Linked DNA regions of Homo sapiens: all the other regions are linked to region 1. Evidence: promoter capture Hi-C in 16 types of primary human blood cells and fetal thymus (Javierre and others, 2016). All regions are on one chromosome and are shown on one strand. The core of a region is centred on a gene start or on the middle of the fragment in contact, and the rest is flanking DNA. Distances in the headings are between cores, read along the strand shown.

Evidence for each region. Contacts are between HindIII fragments. The CHiCAGO score rates a contact against its expected background, and 5 or more counts as called.
Region 2: a fragment that was not itself captured here is called in contact with the fragment with the promoter of HSD17B4 in region 1 in 2 of 17 cell types (activated CD4 T cells and erythroblasts); the score reaches 6.2 in activated CD4 T cells.
Region 3: a fragment that was not itself captured here is called in contact with the fragment with the promoter of HSD17B4 in region 1 in 1 of 17 cell types (non-activated CD4 T cells); the score reaches 7.2 in non-activated CD4 T cells.

Annotation. Positions count from the first base shown.
Region 1 is chr5:119,451,209-119,453,825 of GRCh38, forward strand. HSD17B4 (hydroxysteroid 17-beta dehydrogenase 4) reads left to right here and starts at 1,289. Exons shown (of 24, transcript NM_000414.4): 1 at 1,289-1,425. The coding sequence starts at 1,368. RefSeq lists an enhancer at 1,390-1,439. The HindIII fragment of the contact is 7,394 bases long and covers 1-2,617 here.
Region 2 is chr5:118,907,606-118,910,222 of GRCh38, forward strand. The region is part of intron 4 of DTWD2 (DTW motif tRNA-uridine aminocarboxypropyltransferase 2); the gene reads right to left. Among named protein-coding and RNA genes, the nearest start is that of MIR1244-2, 66 kb to the right of the region's middle. The HindIII fragment of the contact is 977 bases long and covers 803-1,779 here.
Region 3 is chr5:118,925,019-118,927,635 of GRCh38, forward strand. The region is part of intron 4 of DTWD2 (DTW motif tRNA-uridine aminocarboxypropyltransferase 2); the gene reads right to left. Among named protein-coding and RNA genes, the nearest start is that of MIR1244-2, 48 kb to the right of the region's middle. The HindIII fragment of the contact is 2,214 bases long and covers 208-2,421 here.

The sequences.
Region 1 (2,617 bases), core at 39-2,538:
CAGGCAGTCAGCCCATATGGTTGACTTCCCTTGTTCCCTAAAAATTGCTGTTATTCTGTTCTTTTTCAAGGTGCACTGATTTCATATTGTTCAAACACACATGTTTTACAATCAATTTGTACAGTTAACACAATTATCACAGTGGTCCTGAGGTGACGTACACCTTCAGCTTACGAAGATAACAGGATTAAGAGATTAAAGTAAAGACAGGCATAAGAAATTATAAAAGTATTATTTGGGAACTGATAAATGTCCGTGAAATCTTCACAATTTATGTTCCTCTGCTGCGGCTCTAGCAGGTCCCTCTGTTTGGGGTCCATGACTTCCCGCAACATCCAATCAATCCTCCATAATGGGCAAAGTGATCTTTCCATAGTGTAAATGTGTTCCCACCACTCTCTGGAGTAATCCTACTTAAAACCGTTTTCAGCACAAAATTCAAACATCTAAACATGATCTTGCTGGCTTTGCTTTTGTGGCTTTACCCTCTTTCTCCCCAAACCTAGCTAGTGTTTGTGCTGCCTGTAATGCCCTTCTTTCTTTGCAGGGGTCGCCACTTTAGGTCCTGGTCCTCCTTCAGAAAGTTTTTCCTCTTTCTCCCCAGCGGGGATAGGGTCTGTTTATTTTGACACCATTAGCTCACTTACACACATTGGTCACAAGTCTAGGCTGCACCGTTATTGAAAGTTTACCATCTGACTCTGAGTAGCTTGAGGATCCTATCAAAACTCAGGAGATGCTCAGTAAATGTTGATTGAACTATGACTGTTCTCAACATACAAACGCAAGATCATTTAGGAACACTTGTCAAAATGTTTTTGCCCCTTGAGATTCTATTTTGGGAGGTAAGCAGTGGGGGTCCAGGACTCTGCATTTTGACAGTCCCCTGATGTTTGCATGTAGAAGTGCAGGGATTATTACACTGACAAATCTTTACCATCCCTAAGGGGGACTTTCCTTCCCAGGGGCTATCTCTGGAAGCCCCTCAAGGATAGGGGCCGCATGCTGTTTCTCTAGGTCAGCAACTAAACCCAGAAAACGTTTATTGAGTGAATGATGAAACGACAGGTGAATAGATGAACGCAAGGTGTCGAGTTAACTATTCTTCTACACAAGTCCTAGCAGCTCCCATTGCTTCCAGCCGCAGAAATGGCCCCTGGAAGGCAAGTCTTCCAGCGAGTGGAGTCACTCTTAACTACATTTCCCAGGATTCCAAGGGAGCCGCGCGCTCTGCGCTCATCTTCCTACCAGAAATCGGCAAGTCACTGACCCTCGTCCCGCCCCCGCCATTCCCCGCCTCCTCCTGTCCCGCAGTCGGCGTCCAGCGGCTCTGCTTGTTCGTGTGTGTGTCGTTGCAGGCCTTATTCATGGGCTCACCGCTGAGGTTCGACGGGCGGGTGGTACTGGTCACCGGCGCGGGGGCAGGTGAGCATGCGAAGGTTGGAGGCCGCGCCCCTTGCTGAGGCGCAGCTGGCTGCTCTTTTCGGGCCGGCATACGCGCGCAGCCGCAGCTGAGGTCACCCCGCTGAGGTGGTGGGGAGGGGAATGGTTATTCTTGAGGCACCGCATCTCTTGAGGAGGAAAGAGCCGGAAACACCTGGTCTCTCAAGCAGGTACAGCCCGCTTCTCCCCAGCACCCCGGTGTGGGCTTCCCAAGGTCCTGCCTGAGAGGAGAGGCCAGGCTGGGCTGCTGATTGCAAAACTGGGTGAAAGTTCTCCCTGACCCTTATCTGTGGGCATCGATTGTTACTCTTCCTGCAATTAACTCTCTTAGATCTTTGCCTAGTCTTTTAAAGGACTGAAAAGCCGCGAGGGGCGGGGGCTGGAATTCGCCCCCTGAAGCGCAGAGATGTCAGCTCCTGAAAAGTCATTCGGTCGTTCAGTGTTTGTTTCCCTCTGTCGTAAGATTTTAAGTTCGTGAGAGGACCTTCTTTAAAGAGGGCGTCTGATAAGAGCCCTTCCCCGTTGGAGTTTGTATGCTTAGCAAGTCACAATCTGTTCTCGAAATCCACTGGAGTCTTGGCAGAGGTTGTAAGCTCAAATGCGCACAGGGGTCAGGCGTATGATGGAGAAAGAAAATGGGAGTAGGATGGGCACATCTGAGGAACTGGAGAGCAGAGAATTCCGAAGTGGACCGGCCAGTGGGAAAGTTGCCTGTATTTCAGGAGCGGCAAAATGGAAAATTGTTATGTGAAATAGCCCCATTTTTTAAAGTACAAAAAATTAAAACAAACCATTCATACCAACATAGATGCTGTGCAGTGAGATTTTACATTAGTTTCTCACCAGTGGGTGACCTCTGTAACCTCCAAGTGCAGGGATCTTGACATTATGCACCTTTGATTCTCCACTGGTAGTACCTTATACCTGGAAAGGCCCTAATGCATGAATTATTTGAGTTATATATTAAACGTTACAAACTGGAATTCTGTCAATTAATTCCTATGTACTTTCATATCTGTATTGATAAAGTGGCTTCTTATGCTGCCTTTCAGAAAATGCTTTCAGTGTTGATGAATAGCCAAGTATTTTATACCCATAGCTGTCTGGTTATCTCTGCATGGGCATGTATTTGGGTGTAGTCATACCTTCTAAATGTTTTTAGGAAAACATTTTG
Region 2 (2,617 bases), core at 41-2,540, 540 kb before region 1:
CTGCAATCCCAGCTACTCGGGAGGCTAAGGCAGGACAATCACTTGAACCTGAGAGGCGAAGACTGCAGTGAGCCAAGATTGTGCCACTGCACTCAGCCTGGGTGACAGCGAGACTCCATATCAAAAAAAAAAAAAAAAGTCCAAAGGTCACCCAGGAGTCAGTGGCACAGATGAAGTCCAAAGGCAGTCTGCTGGAGAATTCTTCTCTTACTCAGGGGAGGGTCGGTCTTTATGTTCTATTCAAGCCTTCAACTGACTGGATAAAGCCCACCCATATTATGGCAGACAATCTGCTTTACTCGATCAATAAAAATGTTAATCTCCTGCAAAATACTTAGAGAAATACTCAGAATAATTTTTAAACAAATATTTGGGCACCCAGTGGCTCACTCAAGTGGACACATAAAACTAACCATCACTGGACCATATAAACTTGCCTTGAAGATGAAGATGCCTTGCACCTCTAAAATTATTTAATTTCATGTTTATTAAAAATGAGCTCAGGACTTCTGTGTCCATGAAGATGAAACAGATGTAGTTTTCCCTGTTTTTCCTCCTAAGTACAACAAAAAACTGGACATTACATATAAAAAATAACCTGAAAAGACTGAAAAGTGATGAGAAGAAAGAAGACCTGCATAGGGACCTCAGGATCCTCAGGACCAAGGAGTGATACGGGTGAGTTCCCTGGATTTTCATTTTGCCTCATATATGCCTGGCTTGGAGCTAAAACAGCTGGCAGCCAGTGTATCTAACACCCTAGATACATCAATGAGTGCCAAAAACAAAAACAAAAAACCCAAGCTTCATTGCATTTCTGGGTAAACTATGGCTCAGAGAAATTAAATGAGTTGTGTTAGTCAAAGAGCTAGTAATTAAGAAAACAGATTTCAAACACATATCTTCTAATGTCAAACCGTGTCTTATATAGCCTAGAATAAATAACAAATGAGTAAATTCAAATTTGTAGAGACTGAATTATGAATGCAAGATAAACCAACTTCTAGGGAAACCGACAAAACAAATGCATCCCACACCCACCACCACCACCAAAAAAAAAAAAAGAAACCAACTCACTGATACCCATCAAAATGAACAAAAGTAATAGAAAAGAAAATGTAACCTGAAGACTGCACTGCCCTTCTGGTTAAAACATTTCAGTTGCGGGTGATGAAAAATTAAACTCAAATCACTTAAGCTAAAACACAATTGATCAGAAAGAACGTCAGTGAGAAGGCAAAGTAGGAGATACCAGCCTTCCTCCACCCACAAAAAACTATTATCCACAAACGAAAATAGCTCTAAAAGAGCTCAGGAGTTAAGGAGCTGCAGCAACACAGTAGAGCAAAAGCCCAAAAATAACTGCCCAAAGATGGTAAAAACAGTCTCATTTTTCCTGAATGAAGCCAACGGTGCTTAGCAATACAAGGAAACTCCCTGACCCGAGTTCCCTTCACAAGAGAAAAGATTAAGGTAAGCACCAGTTTCTCCATCCTTTTAGGGTTCTGCTGCAGTTATACTCCACCCAGATCAATGGGGAGACCCGCATAGCTGAGTCACCTGGAAACAGCTAGGAACAAAGAAGTGTGTGGCCTATTGGCATCAACCACATGGCAGGTTGTGGCCTTCTCAGCAAAAGACTCTAACACCTTTCAACATGGAGAAACTCAACTCAACAGCCCTTGGGGTCACTGCAGATGCCCCACAGTTGTGAGCACTGAGGACCTCAAGTGTTCATAATCATGAACCCCAGAGGCCTGCTTTGCAGAGGACTCAAGAAGCTTTCACCACTGAGGAAACCAATAGCCAGCCAAGCCACTGCAGACCCCCAACAGCTTTTACTAACAAGGGCCTACCAGTTTTTCACCTTCTCAGACTTCACTTGCCTAAGCTACCTTAGTAAGCATCACCATGGGCAACCCAGCCCTGGGAACCAGGGCAGCCACCCCACACATGTCCACTACCACCCCAGGGCCCTGCCACCAGGTTCAGCTTCCACCAGTGTGCACACTGCTGCAATCAGACCCTGCAAGCGCACACATGCAGATTTCAGGGCTGAAGCCCCAGTGCCAGATCCATAAGCACAGATAAGAGTCCAAACAGCCCTCACAGCTACCAAGGACCTCCCACAATTCTTGCCACCAATGACTATGTAGCTAACAATAACACAGAGAGCTGCCTGAAATGACGAGACACTGTGCCCCTGCCTCAGACCTGAAGCCACTGTATTCCCCCGTACTTAGCACTCCATGCCACTAGACCTGGTTCCATAGCATGCTACACAATATGCCCTCCAGTCAGCCCATCAGTGCTCTCCTCCTGCACATAAGATATTCATTTACTGAAGCTTGTGATGAGAGTAGCAGGCCCAGTGGTCTCCAAAATGACTTCAGGGTTATTCTTTCCTTGTCTTGGTGAACAGCACCTGGCTTCTGCCCATCCATACCAATCTCCTTATAACATGTGAACATTCATTTAGCCATACCCTTGGTGCTCTCTCCCAAACACACTTTTTCATTGTTTAAAACATGGCCAGGGTGACAATTTTCCAAATCTTTAAAAGTTCTGCTCCTCTTTTGATTATAAATTCCATCTTTAATTTGTTTCTTTTTGCATT
Region 3 (2,617 bases), core at 65-2,564, 530 kb before region 1:
TATTTTAGTCTCATCTAAAAACAATGTCTGCATTTTGGTCAAAGGGAATAAAAACTATAAAGAATTTAAGTTTAAAACCTCAGAAGTCAGGGTTCCATTGTTATTCTTCACTAAGTGTATGGCTTGTATGCACCCAACAACAGAGCAGATAACACAAAAACTACTGGGAATGCAGGGATAACATCGTTAAAAATACATAAGCACTAAAGCTTTTCATAATCCTTTTACAGTATCAAACAGTCCAAGTATACCAAAAAATAAAAACATAAAGAAAAATACAATTAACAAACTTAAAAGCAATAGTATGAATGTTTACATCCCTAAATAGAGAATGTACATTTTTATAGTAATAGAACATGAACAAAAATCTACCAGGTACCTATTCACACAGAAATCATAAACTTATTCAAAATAGCGTGGCTAATGCTCTTTTATCACGATTCCAAAAATCAGAAATAAAAGTAAAATAATGATGAAAAGTGTTAAAACACTTAAGAATTAAGAACTCATTGATAGTATGGAGATTCCTTAAAGAACTAAAAGTAGGCCAGGCACGGTGGCTCATGCCTGTAATTCCAGCACTTTGGGAGGCCGAGGCGGGTGGATCACAAGGTCAGGAAATCGAGACCATCCTGGCTAACATGGTGAAACCCTGTCTCTACTAAAAATACAAAAAATTAGCCGGGCGCAGTGGCGGGTACCTGTAGTCCCAGCTACTCAGGAGGCTGAGGCAGGAGAATGGTGTGAACCCGGGAGGCGGAGCTGGCAGTGAGCCGAGATTGTGCCACTGCACTCCAGCCTGGGTGACAAAGCAAGACTCCATCTCAAAAAAAAAAAGAACTAAAAGTAGATCTACCGTTCAGTCAAGCAATCCCACTACTGGGTATTTACCCAAAGGAAAATAAGTCATTATATGAAAAAAACACATAAACAAAGTGTGATGCCTCATGCCTGTAACCCCAGCACTTTGGGAAGCCGAGGTAGGGAGAGGATCACTTGAGCCCTGGAGTTCAAGGCCAGCCTGGACAACACAGTGGGACCTCATTTCAATTTAAAAAGAAAAAAAAGACACATGCGCAGGCATGTTTATAGCAGCACGATTCACAACTGCAAAGACGTGGAACCAATCTAAGTGCCCATCAACCAATGAGTGGACAAAGAAAATGTAGTATATATATACCACGGAATACTACTCAGCCATAAAAATGAACAAACTAAGTTCATTTTGCAGCAACTTGGATGGAACTGGAGGCCATTATTCTAAGTGAAGTAACCCAGGAATGGAAAACCAAATTCCGTTATGTTCTCACTTATAAGTGGGAGCTAAGCTATGAGGATGCAAAGATGTACATAATAAATTTTGGGGACTCTGGGTGGAAGGAGGGAGGTGAGGAGTAAAACACTAAATATTCGGTACAGTGTACACTGCTCAGGTGACGGGTGCACTAAAATCTCAGAATTCACCACTACAGAATTCATCCATGTAACCAAAAACCACTTGTACCCCAAAAGCTATTGAAATTTTAAAAAAAAGAATTCATTGATAATCCATGGGTAGAAAGAAATCAAAACAACTTATATCAATGTTACTGATAAAAGAACACTTTAACCCAAAATAATGGGATACAGTGACAGTTATACTAGCGGAAATATTGCATCCATCTCGCCCCTTTTGTTCAAAAAAGAAAGTGATTTTTTTTTTTGGAGACAGGGTCTCTCTCTGGCACCCAGGCTGGAGTGCAGTGGCACAATCATAGCTCACTGTAACCTCAAACTCCTGGGCTCAAGTGATCCTCCCACCTCAGCCTCACAAGTAGCTGGAGTTATAGGTACAAGCCACCAAGCCTAGCAGAACTCAGAAATCTTAATAAAGAAATTTAGTACTTGTTTTAGTCAGCTTAGGCTGTTGTAACATTCATTTCTCACAGTTCTAGAAGCTGGGAAGTCTGAATCAGAGCACCTGCATGGTCACGGTCCTGGTGAGAGCTCTCTTCCTGGCTTGCAAATGGAAGTCTTCTTGCTGTGTCCTCACATGCAGAGAGAGACAGAGAAAGAGAGAGAGAGAGACAAAGAGAGACGGAGAGAGACAGAGAGCAAAAAGGAAGTATCTCTCATGTCTCTTCTTCTAAAGGTACTAATCCCATCATGAGGGCTCTGCCTTCATAATCTAATCACCTCCCAAAGGTCCCATCTCCAAATACCATTATATTGGAAGTTAGGGCTCCAATATATGCATGGGGTCGGGGGAGGGACAGGGAACACAATTCAGTCTACAGAAGTACTCTTAGTAAAAATCTTATAAAATCAGAAGAATAATAGAAGAAAATAAGCCCAAAAAGATGAAATATAAAATTGGTCGAGAAAAAAGTTCAACGTAATGAAATAAAAATAAACTATAATAGCCAATATAAACAACCTAAAAGCTTATATTTTAAAAGTTCTATAAAATAGAGAAACCCCTTTTGAATCTGTTTGTGTAAAAAACGTTTGTGTATGTGTGTGTGTCTATGTCTGTGTGTGTATGATTAAAAACAAGAAAAAAATGCATTCCTGAGTAATTAAAATAATTATTTAAGACTGTATATAAGTATATGGCAACCAATCTGCTAACTTAGAG